3 separate regions of the Homo sapiens genome follow, and regions 2 and 3 are each linked to region 1. The links are contacts of gene promoters, found by promoter capture Hi-C in human tissues and cell types (Jung and others, 2019). All regions are on one chromosome and are shown on one strand. Each heading gives the region's core, a stretch centred on a gene start or on the middle of the fragment in contact. The rest is flanking DNA. Distances are from core to core; before and after follow the strand shown. Region 1 holds the start of FMN1 (formin 1). Region 2 has its middle 34 kb from the start of FMN1. Region 3 has its middle 57 kb from the start of RYR3-DT.

Region 1 (4,249 bases), core at 239-2,738:
AAGATCGCTTGAGCTTAGGAGTTTGAGACCAGCTTGGGCAATATGGTGAAACCCTGTCCCTACAAATAAAAAATTAAAAAATTAGCTGGACATGGTGGTGCCCGCCTGTAGTCCCAGGTACTTTGGAGGCTGAGTTGGGAGGATGGCTTTAGCCCACGGGGTTGAGGCTGCAGTGAGCCAAGATCGCACCACTGCACCCCAGCCTGGGTGACAGAGTGAGACCGTGTGTTAAAAAAACAAATAAATAAAGGGCCTATCAGTGTTTGGCTAATATTGTGATTAAGAATAAATCAGAGTTCCAATAAACTATTATTTCTAGAAAAAAAATAGTGAAAAAAATCACCTTAAAAATACCTTCCAAATTTTTTTCCCATTTACTTATTTGAAAACAGAATCTATTCAGGACAAAATTCTATCTTCAAGTACCAAATGGGTGATACAGTTCGCATTTATCCAAAAGCAGATTAAAGACAATGCCTTTTCTTGCCTACCTACTTGGAAAAGATCTCAGTGTCACTCAAATCACATTCCAAATCTCAACGACATTAAGGCCTCAAATCCTCTTAGGAAAGGTTTGAAGGTAGTTCATTTCAGTAATGATTAGACACTTGGGGACAAAACAGTACCTTGGCATCAAGGTCTGTACTGATTCACCAGCACAGAAATAGCAGTAACAAGATCTTCAACTCTGAGGTGTTCAAATAAGCAGACAAACTCCCTCGTGAGGCCCAGGCCTCTTGACATCCGGACTCAGTCTTTCTTTCTCAGATCGCCAAGGGTCTGGCCCATTTCTCAGCCTAAACCTATTTTGCGTTTAATTCAAACCAGTCAAAGTAACTTAACCGCCAGCAGTTAAAAAGCTACTAGGAGGAAGCGTAGGCAGGAGATGGGAGAGGAAAAGGCTCCTGTCAGGGTTTGGGCTTATGTGTGGATTCTTGAATTCTCCTTCTTTGTTCCTTTTAGCACTTACGATCAAGAACGGCTAGGCTGAGGGGGCAGGGGGGCCAGGCCACTGGAGCGAAACGGCCTCTCCGGATCTGGAGGCGTGGGAACCTCGGGAATAGTGGGGAGTTCCAGACCAGTTCCCTTCCCCCATCTGAACAAGTCCAGAGCGTGCGCCTTGAGAGGCGCTCGGAAACAGGGAAGCTGGGGACACGTAGCGAGAGACTGGTTGTCGCCCTGGCTGTCCGTCTTAGACCTAGCTTAGCGACCACCGCCTTCAATCCCTCAGCCCGGATCAGACGGTGCCAAAAGACAGCACTGCTTCCCAGCCTGGCCCAACGGCTCGGCTGCTGATTGGGCACCGCCGCCTCCCGCCCCGCCTCCCCTGCCACCTCGGGCGCCGCTGCACGTTTCCACTGGTCTTCAGCCCTGCCGATCAGTTTACTGCTCACCTCCCCCAAACAGCTCGTCAGGCCGGCGCGTGCTAGGAAGGCGGGGCCTGTGGCCTGTGGGGCGGAGCCTCGGTGGAGGTCGGCGCAGCTGCCCCTTTGGGCTTTGGCTCTGGACTGGAGCGCAGCATCCTTCGAGGCTGCAGCCGCCACGGCTGTTGCCGTAAGCAATCCTCCTGCCTCAGCCTCCCGAGTAGCTGGGACTCGGGACCAGCCTCCCGAGTATTGGTCAGGTAAAGAGAGTCTTGTCTGTTCTGCTGGCCATCTGCCCGTCTCTTCTTCCCGACCAAAGGCTGCCTGCTCCGCCTTCCCCCGTGGCTTTCAGGGTTCTTGGAATGAGGCATCAAGTCTATTTACCCCGCCAGCTTATCTTCCTCCCCTTCTGTGTCGGTTCCTCCAGCTCCCCCACCAAGCTGCTCCCAAGTACGTTGGTGGGCCCTCCGGGTCATCCCAACGCTCCTCACTACAGAACTCCTGTCGTTGACTCTCAGGTCCCAGCCCCCTTGACCCGCCAGTGCAGTCTCATTCCCAGCTTGGCACAGGAAAGGTGGAGGGCGGGAGGGCGGGAGGGCGGGGGACGGAGAGATGCAGAGCTTTTTTTTTTTTTTTTTTTTTTTTTTGAAGCTGGATGTGTTTAGCGCAGAGGGGGAGCACCACAATGGGATTGCATTGGGAACAGAAGCAGCTTCATGACTATGGTTGGCAATGACTAGAAAGGTATCTGTTGCTGCTTTTTGCTTGTGTTTATAGATGACATTTACCATCACCGTTTTCTTCTTCTTTCATCATCATCATCATCACCATTGCCACTACCACCACCTCCAAGGCCACTACCACCACAGCATCTCTGTTCCTCCATCAGAGCTCTTCAAGTTCTGTAAAGGCAGATTCTCTAAAGGCATGTAAGTGCTGACGGATCCCCCAACCCCCTCCCCCACCACCAAATAACGAACAGTGCTCTTGCCCCCTGAGGCCAGAGCCAAGCCCTCATTTAACTCAAGAACAAGTAGCTGGGAGCAGAGTGTGAGCTGGGAGGATTTTCCTTATCCTCATTTGCAATTGAGATTGCCAAAGAAAACCCTTTATTTTAATCATCCACATTTCTGCTTGCTGTCTCCTGGAGAGTTCCATGTTAGCACTCACACACTCCGAATGGGCTGAATGCAGAGCCTGAACCTGTGATATATATGGGGAGTGGCAGTCACTGAGAGGTGAATGTCCAGACCCAATCCTTTAAGAAGACCAGGTGGAGTAGCAGACAACCTGACTTTCTGCTACAGTAGCTCCAGCTGTACTAAAGCATGTTTACTATTCATGTTTGCATATGGGACATGTGCCATCATCTGCTATGCCCCCTTGCGTGTGTATTGGCAGGGGGGCGGAGGGGCGCATCTAAATTCCTAGGAGAGAGAATTATATTCTGTTCTCTACACCAGGTAGCATCTTATAGGCACACCAATGGGATTCAACAGCCGTTGCTTAGCTGTTTCTAGGGCTTACTGCAAATCTCTTGGATCACAGACTTATTAACCCTTTTTTGGGAGGGAAAACAGTATAGCTGAGAATTGCATACCAGATTAACTGTCGTTGTGGAAGATGTTGCTTCCACAATGAATCAATGAGGTCTCGGGTCTTCTTGATCAGATATCTAAACACTAGTCTCCTTTCTCTCAACTGTGTTACAGTCCAGGAGCAGGACCAATGAATAGTTAGACATATTGCAGGAACAAAGAAGCAATGGCCTCAATGGAGGGAAACAATGGAGAAGAGTAGTGAGACAGTATATTGTAATGGCTAAACTCATAAACCTGTCAGACATAGGTTCAAATCCTGGACCAGCCACTGACTAGCTCAGTGATTTTTGCAAGTTGCTTGCCTCTTTAATTTTAATTTCTCGTCTGTAAAATAGGGATAATACTACCTGTCTCTTAGGAGAAGGTGTGAGGATTAAACGAGATAATATAGGTAAAATACTCAGTAGTTTCTGGCACATAAGTGGGGAATTTATAGTAACTGCTATTAATAATACTAGTCAAGAAGGATAATAAAGGCCAGTCTCGTTCCTAAAAATTATGCATTTTTTTCCATTGTCTTTATCCTTTTTAGGTGTCAGAGCTGATGCAAATGGGGTATGGTAGTCTTCAGGTTCCTTATAGCACTACATCTTAGAGGGGTGCCACTATTGAAGCCACCTGTGTTTGGACAGGCATTTCTCTCACCAGCCTTCACAAGTACTTAGCCGATTCTTAGTTGAGATACGTTAAAGATGCAGCTTTAGAGAAGATTTCCAGGCCTCTGGCCCTATTCTAGACTGCTTCTTTCTCACTGAGTGTTCAATGCATTGACTGTGATTGATGAAGCCTTTGTCACAGGCTTAACCCTGCCTAGACCAAATGCTTTGGCCAAGGGAATGGGGTCCCATAGGACCTATGATTGTCTAAGGGTAGGTCTCATATCCTGGTCATCCTCCCTTTCCAGACATAAAATTGGTGGAGCTGTTCCCAGAGGAAGAGGAATGGGGACAGACTGGAACTTGATGTGATGATGGTAAATATCCTTGATAGAAAATTGAGAAATGCTTCTCTCCTATCTCATATACCATGCCTCAAAGTCTAGTTTTACGTTAAAGTTTTGGATTCATGCACACCATCCCAAGCTGTGGTGTGCTTTAGATGATCTTGCCTTTAATGGTTTTCTTATTAAAACTTTATTCGTATCAGTGTAAAAGTTCATAATGGATATTTCATATCTTGCAGTGATGCTACTGGTTGGTAGTATGACCACGTTTAGGGGCTATTCATAATCTCTTTTTGGGACCTGGTTTTAAGAGTAGCTATTATTTTTAGATGTACATAGTC
Region 2 (4,298 bases), core at 1,001-3,500, 34 kb before region 1:
AAAACCTCTTCATTTTGTGGCAGATCCCAGCTCTCAATATCAAGGTTAGAGGTAACTCTGAAGCTTCTCTGAGGTATAAATGCTGACTTAGTAGGGGCCCAGAACTATTGATGCCCACACTTCTTGGTCATCTACTGTATTGCAGACATTGTGTTAGATAGGTCATACGATCTCCATTTCACAGTTAGGAGAGTAGCCTAAAATTATCAATCTGGTAAGCAGCAGAGACAGGACTCATGGGCCACCTCTGGCCTCCCCCAGAACATTTGCCTTTCGTACTCAGGTGTAATAAAGACCTTTGAAGTCAGCAGTATTAACCTACTACTCAGAACCATTGAATCAGTAAGTGTAGTCAGTTATTTTCCATCACTTATTTTCCTGTCTCCTCTGTAATTTGTTCAAAGATAGTATAGGGACCCAAAATCCTTCTATTCATTGTCGTAAATTTTACTTTGGAGCCCAATTATTCTTCTAGTTTAATAATTCCCATTAAAGATTTTAAAAAGCTTTGGATAAATGCTTTATTAAAGCATCACAGGCCATTTATACCTTAGTATGAGTAAAAAATGGAAGGGCTGGGTTCCATAGGGGATCGGGGGGACTTAAAGGAATTATTAGGCCATTGTCTTTTTTATTTTTTGGAGACAGTCTTGCTCTGTCACCTATGCTGGACAGCGGTGATGCAATCTTGGCTCACTACAACCTCCACCTTCTGGGTTCAAGCAATTCTCCTGCCTCAGCCTCCTTAGCAGGTGGGATTACATGGATGTGCCACTACCACAGCTAGCTTTTTTTTTTTTTTAGTGGAGACGGCATTTCAACATGTTGGCCAGGCTGGTCTCTAACTCCTCACCTCAAGTGATCTGCCCGCCTCAGCCTCCAAAAGTGCTGGGATTACAGGCATGAGCCACTGCGCCCAGCCGTCAACTGAAGAAGAGTGAGGGCATTGAATTCAGGGCTAACCAGGAAGCTAAAGTAATCCTTTGAAAGATGACTCCACCAAGAGCAGCCTTGTCTGAGTTGGCTGTCGGGGTAGGCATGTAAGGCTTTATTTCTCACACATAACCATGACCTTCTCAGGCAATAATTTTTAGTATAAAATAACTGGACTTGGGGAATCCCAACCCACTCCAGGGGTGACATTATTCCCTGCAGGTTGCTCTCTTGTAAGGCCCATTTGAAATGTTCATGGTTGATCTTTATCCCACACAACATACATATTTACTGGTTAGGTTTTCATCAGCTCCTTTGAAATCCTTGTCTTTACACTAAGGTCATCACCCTTTGTGTGTGAGTGTCAGCTTAAAAGACCATCAGTTGCCCCCTGAATAAACTGAATGTTTGTGTCTCCCCAAAATTCACATGCTGAGATTAAAATCCCCAATGTGATGGTATCTGGAGGTGGGGCCTTTGGGAGGTAATTGGGTGATGGGGGCAGAAGGATTAGTGCCATTACAAAAGGGACCTCAGGGAGCTCCCTTGCTCCTTCTGCCATGTGAGTACAAAGCAAGAAAATGGTCATCCATGAACCAGAAAGCAGGAAAATCAGAAATCAAATCTTCTGGTACCTTGGTCTTGGACTTTCCAACCTCCAGAACTATGAGAAATTAATTTCTGTTGTTTATAAGCTGCCCAGTCTATGATACTTTGTTATATAGCAGGCCAAACAGATGAAGATATCCCCTCTTGGGGTTCAATGAGTTTGAATCCTGAAGGGTCTGTGGTCTCCAAACTCAAGAGCTTCCAGCTCTGTGGCAGGGCCCATGAACAGGCAGGTCCTTCTCCATTTTCTTGGGCTGTAAAAGCCTTCCTTTCCAGGCTGCTATCCCATGGCTCTCAGCTGGCAAATCTGCCCCAGTGTGGGGTCATCTATCCTTAGCCAGCAGAGGGATGATTTTCCAGTAGTGTAAATAGGGTGATCCCCTGCTTGGAGGTTGGGATTTATTTTTCTTTTGGAGGGTTTTTCAGTAGATTGGTGAAGTCTGAATCTAACTTAAGGATTTTCAGATCCTGAATTTATCAGCCCCACTGAGCAGACACAGAAGAGTGGAGAGAGCTATAGCAGTGTCTTTCAGCAGTTCTTAGGAGTTCAGGGGTGGAAAGATGGGGCGAGGGCGAGGGCTAGGGCCGTGTGGTGGATGGGGAAAGTCTAAGAGAGTCTGATGGGCAAGGAAATAGATTTCCTGGATATGAATCCTTGCCTTTGCTAGAATTTCTCTGCTGAAAATGTAGGTGGTTAGGAGATTTCCTACCTTCCAGGTCAGCTAAACCTGGAACTACATTTACAGTCAACTTTAAACAAAACCCCCTGACAGTTTACACCCTACACAGTCCACAGTCAGTACTGTAGTCTGGAAATAAGAGATGAATCTAAGGTTTGGATGCTGAAAGATTCACCTGTCTCTCCAGGCATGGTCTGAGTATTTCTAATCTAGAGAATTTATAAGTCAACAATGGGCCTGAAATATAGTCTTCCAGTGACTTCTCATGTAATGGAAAACTCATCTTCTCCCCAAGGTTTTATCCTACTGGGAAGATCACCAGTGATCAATCTTAAAAGAGAAAATGTCCATTAGGAATTTTTATGTCCCTTCACCTGCATTACTTTGCTAGGAAAAATAGGCATGAGAGGATTGTATATTTTATTATATAATCCTACTTCAAAAGAGTTTATATTCTATTCACAAGGAAAAAGGAAAGTACTAACAAATGCAAAGAAGCATGAGGGAAGTGTCATCAAGATAATACAAAAAGGCTCAAAGGAAAAAGATGAACAAAAAGGAGCTAATGGGAGAGGTGTCATTTGATACAGGAATTGACCAAGAGATATGATTTCAACTCATGGAGATGGAGGAGGAAGGGCCTTCTAACTGAGGAAAGGTAAAAGACGGAAATTAAAATGTGCCCTCAGGCTTTAAATATCTTAATTGCCTGGGGGAGAGGCTAGAGGTAAATTGATCCTTCGATTATTTGGAGTTCATTATCCCAGCAGAGAAAGTCTTACAGCAGCTTACTTGATTACTAGTTGTTCAAGAAACTTTATTTATTATCCACTTATATCTGGTATGCAAGAAAGAGTTTAAAAGAATCAATAAACTTTGGTCTCCAGTGGATTAGGTATTGACACGACTGCGGAAGAAGAGAAAGTACAAGATAGTCCTGAGGGCTCCCCAAGGGTAAACCTTCTAAATGTTTAAACCTTCAAAACCATTGATTCCCAGAAATACTCAGAACAAAGTGAAGTATTTGCAAGAGAGAGAGAGAGAAAATTTTGTGGGCCTCCGGAAGAGGAATCCTGTTACTTCCTTTATAGCTGATTCTCAACCCTAGTAACACATCAGAATCACCCAGGGACAGTTTAAAATATTCATGCCTGGGCCCCAACTCCAGATATCTTGATTTTATTTAGGGGTATTGGTATCTTTGAAAAGCTCCTCCAGGTGATTCCATCACTAGATAGAACGTCTTGACTGTGAGTTTTCCAGGTTCTTGGCGTATTGAACAAAGAATTGAACAAAATGCACAAACAAAGCAACAAAAGAAGCAACAAAAGACAAAATAAAAGAGTAGAGTAATAAAGGCATAAATTTATTGAAGATGCAAAAGTACGATTAACAGAGTGGGAGCAGACTTGAGCAAGTGGCTCAAGAGCCTCCCTATTGCAATGCTCCCCAGGGTATTTATAAAGCCAAAAGAACTTGGCAATACCCCTAGGTGCCCTCTAGAGGCCTCCAACTGGTGGCAGTCTATGAAAAATTGACCTGAGGCCAATCAGAGTCTGAAGTGGAAACTTCTGTCTTGTTATCACAGGAAGGAGGATGTGGCTTGTATGCTGCCCAATCTTGGCTAGAACTGCCTGCACCTGCTGTTCTTTTGCTTATGCCTTAATCTTTGGTTACCCTAATTCCCTTTTCTCCTGCCTTAATTCCAATGTACAGCCAAGGCTGCAAACCACTGCTCTGAAAGCACTTTTGGTAACCTCCAGACTCCTTATATAAAGACAAGAGAGAACTGGGGAGAGTTATTTCCAAATTGGGAAAATTCCTTCTATGTAGGAAGAAAAAGTGGACCTTAATATGAAGCCACCCTTCCTGATTATTTTTTCATATTTGTAGCTGCTTTGGCATCTTCAGCCTTGAATTCCAACTGGGTCTGTATTTGCTCCTACCTACCTTACATTGATTATAACAGTCTCTTTAATATATTGGGTTCTTCCCACTACGTGGAGAGAATATAGAAATCAGGGTAAAGCTACAAATTGCCCCTTTCCCGACATGGTAGGCTGAATAACAGCCCCC
Region 3 (4,187 bases), core at 609-3,108, 59 kb before region 1:
CAAAGACAAACTGCTAGGTGAAGGAAAAGCTATAGGAAGTCCAAAGGGCTGATTATTTTTATGTATTTGTTTATGTATTTATTGATTGATTTTTTTCTTTATTTTTTTATCTTTTTTTTTTTTTTTTTTTTTTTTTTGGAGACAGAGTCTCTCTCTGTCGCCAAGGCTGGAGTGCAGTGGCATGATCTTGGCTCACTGCAACCTCCTCCTTTGGGGTTCAAGCAATTCTTGTGCCTCAGCCTCCTGAGTAGCTGGGATTACAGGGACCCGCCACCATGCCCAGCTAATTTTTTGTATTTTCAGTAGAGACGGGGATTTCACCATGTTGGCCAGGCTGTTCTGGAACTCCTGAGCTCAGGCAATTCACCCTCCTCAGCCTCCCAAAGGGCTGGGATTACAGGTGTGAGCCACTGCACCTGGCCGGTCTGATCATTTTTAGACTCATCTAAAAGGTCTTTGATACAGATAATATTTTTCTTTTTTCTTTTTTTTTTTTTTTGAGACAGAGTTTCACTCTTGTAGCCCAGGCTGGAGTGCAGTGGCACTGTCTTGGCTCACTGCAACGCCCGCCTCCCAGGTTCAAGTGATTCTTTTGCCTCAGCCTCCCAAGTAGCTGGGACTACAAGAGCACACCACCATGCCTGGCTAATTTTTTTGTTGTTGTTTACTTTTTTTTTTTTTTTTTTGAGACAGAGTCTTGCTCTGTCGCCAAAGCTGGAGTGCAGTGGCATGATCTTGGATCACCGCAACCTCCACCTCCCAGGTTCAAGCAATTATCCTGCCTCAGTCTCCTGAGTAGCTGGGATCACAGGTGTGCACTATGAAGCCCAGCTAATTTTTTTTTTTTAATTTTAGTAGACACAGGGTTTCACCATGTTGGCCAGGCTTGTCTTGAACTCCTGACCTCAGGTGATCTGCCCACCTCGGCCTCCCAAATTGCTGGGATTACAGGCATGAGCCATCGCACCCTGCCGATACCATTCTTTCTATTTGCTAGGATGGCATGAATGAAACTATTTATCAAGAAAGCAGGTGAGCATCTGTGTTTGTATTCACCAGCAAGTGGTTCATATTCATGGATTTTATACTGTATAGAAATGAACTAAGGAAAAAGGACATACTGTCCATACTCTTAAAAGCTTTTATGTATGTAGACCCAGGCTTCAAAATATGTTATATGGCATAGAAAGATCCAGAGTTTACTAACTAGTCATGCATCTGTCCTAGCTTGAGGGCTACTAAAGTTACTTAGGAATTCAAGTATAATTAATCACACATTTATATTCTGCCTATGCCATGGAAAAGGAAAAAAATCCAGTTATGACAGCATTTGCCTATGAATATGAAAACAAAATGCTGTATCACTACAACTGGATCTAATCAGCTGAAACTGTTAAAAGAGAATCATTTGGCTAACTGGCTTTTGACAAAAGTGCAAACCAATTCAGTGAAAGAAGGATAGCCTTTTCAACAACTGGTCCTGCAGCAATTGGACAACCACAGGAAAAAAAAAAAAAAAAAACACTCTACATAAACCTCAAATCTTCCAGAAAAATGAACCCAAAATGGATCATAGATTTAAATGTAAAACAGAAAACTATAAAACTTTTAGAATAAAACATAGGAGAAAATCCTAGGGACCCAGAGCTTTGTGAAGAGACCTAGATATGACACCAAATCCATAAAAGAAAAAAAAAATCTATAAATTGGGCATGAATTATTTTTTAAATTTGCTTTGTGAAAACTCTCTTTGGCACTGAAAAGACAAGCTACAGACTGGAAGAAAATATTTACAAGTCGCACACATGATAAAGTATTCATAGATAGAATGCATAAAGAATTCCCTAAACTCAATAGTATAAAAGCAAACAATACAATTAGAAAATGGGCAAGATACATGAGGAAACTTTCACCAAAAAGGATACACAGATGGCAAATAAGTACATGAAAAGATTAAATTCATTAGATTTTAGGGAAATGCAAATTAAGACCATGATCTGCTATTACTGCAAACCTACTAGAATAGCTAAAATAAAAAATGATGAAACCAAACGCTAGTAAGGATGCAAAGAAATTGGATCCCTTGTACATTTATCTGTGGGTGTGTAAGATGCTACAGCCACTCCAGAAAGTAGTTTGGCAGTTTTGTAAACAATTAAACATATATTTATGATACAACCCAGTAATCACACTCCTGGGCATTTATCCCAGAGACGTGAAAATTTACATCCACACAAAAACTTGTACACAATATTCACAGCGGGTTTATTTGTAATAGCCAAACCTAGAAGCTAGCAAAATGTCCTTCAACAGGTGAATAAACAAACTGTGTTATATCCATACCATAGAATGTTACTCAGCAATAAAAAGGAATAAACTATTGATACATGAAACAACTTGGATGGATTTCAGGGATAAAAAGAGTGGAACAAAAAGCCAATCTCAAAAGATCACACACCATATGATTCCATTTATAGAACATTCTGTAAGTAATAAAATTATAGATATGGGAAATACATTAGTGGCTGCTAGTGTTTAAGGATAGTGGAGGAGAAGAAAGTGAATGTGCCTATAAGGAGGTAGTATGAGGATGATCTCTGTGGTGGTGAAAGAGTTCCGAATCTTCATTGTGGTGGTTGCACAATCTACACTTGTGATAAAATGTCATAGAGGTATCTACACACATTGCACCAATCTCAATTTCCTGGTTTTGATATTGTACTATGGAAATGAAAGGTATTTGAGGAAAACTGTGTAATGAGTACATGGGGCCCCTTGGTGCTATGTTTTCCTATAAACATGTCTAAATAAAAAGTTTAAAAGAGAAAGAGAGGGAGACTATCATCTTTGAGCAATTCACTCTACAAAGATGACAAATGACTAAGACCTTTAAGAGATCCCAGTATGCCAGAGCCCTACTGGATCAAAGTGAAAACACTTTCTTGGCCAGTGAACAAAGACATTTGCCTTAATCTACCTAGTACAAACATGTGAATTCATTTATCCCTATCCAGAGTGCAAACTTTCCATTTTTAATTAGCATAACCCATCCAAATATTTGTTTCTAGCAGTAAACTCCCCCAACTTTTCTCTCTCAGTCAACTACTTAGTAAATTTGTTTACTGGTCCATGTATTTACTGGCAATTAAATCAACTCAAAGCTCACTATGTTGACCACTTAGTGGTCATAGCATATTTGTATCATGACAAAAGATTTGCAGCTTCAGACAGCCTTCATGCCCTATCTAAACATACAGGATTTACAGTTCCAAGTGCTAGGCTGGGTAAACAGTTGGGGAGTATGATTTATAGGTGACAGAGTGAAACTAAGGAAGAGCCCAAGGATGGTGTCCAGGGCAAAAACCAGAATATCTGAAGTAGAGGTGACTGATATGGTTTGGCTGTGTCCCCAACCAGATCTCATTTTGAATTCCCATGTGTTGTTTGAGGGACCTGGTGAGAGATAATTGAATCGTGGGGGGAAGTCTCTTCCATGCTGTTCTCACGATAGTGAATAAGTCTCACAAGATCTGATCATTCTATAAAGAGGAGTTCCCCTGCATGAATTCTCTCTCTTTTTGCCTGCCACCATCCATGTAAGACGTGACTTGCTCCTCCTTGCCTTCCTTCATGATTGTGAGGCCTGCCCAGCCGTGTGGAACTGTAAGTCCAATAAACCTCTTTCTTTTGTAAATTGCCCAGTCTCTGCTATGTCTTTTATCAGCAGTGTGAAAATGGACTAATACAGCGACAGCAAAAAAGTGAGGCCAAGAGGGCTGGACAGAGAAGCAGAAGCCAAAGAAGGATGTGGCAAAGGAAGGAACTACAGCTAGTCAGAACAGAGCGAGAATGATTGACAGAGACATAGCCTGGAGGAATGCCCTGAGGTGATGGATGAAGAGGGACTATTAATGATGCTGAACCAGTTTAGATACCGTTAATATAATAATGATGCCAGCCTGGGCAACATAGTGAGTCTCCATCTCTACAAAAAATACAAAAATGAGCTGGTCATGGTGGCACATGCCTGTAGTCCTGGCTACTTGGGAGGTTGAGGTGGGAGGTTCACTTGTGCCCAGGAGGTCCAAGGTGCAGTGAGTCATGATTGCACCACTGCACTCTATCCTGGGCAACAGGGCAGGACCCTATCTCAAAATAATCATCATCATGATCATCATTTATTGAAC

Evidence for each region. The method cuts DNA at HindIII sites, captures the fragments that hold promoters and counts their contacts. A contact is called where the count stands out against the background at its distance.
Region 2: a fragment that was not itself captured here is called in contact with the fragment with the promoter of FMN1 in region 1 in 2 of the 25 tissues and cell types used here (bladder and psoas muscle).
Region 3: a contact is called between a fragment that was not itself captured here and the fragment with the promoter of FMN1 in region 1, in 1 of the 25 tissues and cell types used here (aorta).

The regions. Positions count from the first base shown.
Region 1 is chr15:33,191,953-33,196,201 of GRCh38, reverse strand. FMN1 (formin 1) reads left to right here and starts at 1,488. Exons shown (of 21, transcript NM_001277313.2): 1 at 1,488-1,624; 2 at 2,142-2,293. LOC105370759 (a long non-coding RNA gene) reads right to left here and starts at 1,291. Exons shown (of 3, transcript XR_932090.3): 1 at 627-1,291. RefSeq lists silencers at 1,186-1,395, 1,170-1,509. The HindIII fragment of the contact is 9,448 bases long and covers 1-4,249 here.
Region 2 is chr15:33,226,223-33,230,520 of GRCh38, reverse strand. No RefSeq gene overlaps it. Among named protein-coding and RNA genes, the nearest start is that of FMN1, 34 kb to the right of the region's middle. RefSeq lists an enhancer at 3,744-3,793. The HindIII fragment of the contact is 3,929 bases long and covers 286-4,214 here.
Region 3 is chr15:33,251,253-33,255,439 of GRCh38, reverse strand. No RefSeq gene overlaps it. Among named protein-coding and RNA genes, the nearest start is that of RYR3-DT, 57 kb to the left of the region's middle. The HindIII fragment of the contact is 8,588 bases long and covers 1-4,187 here.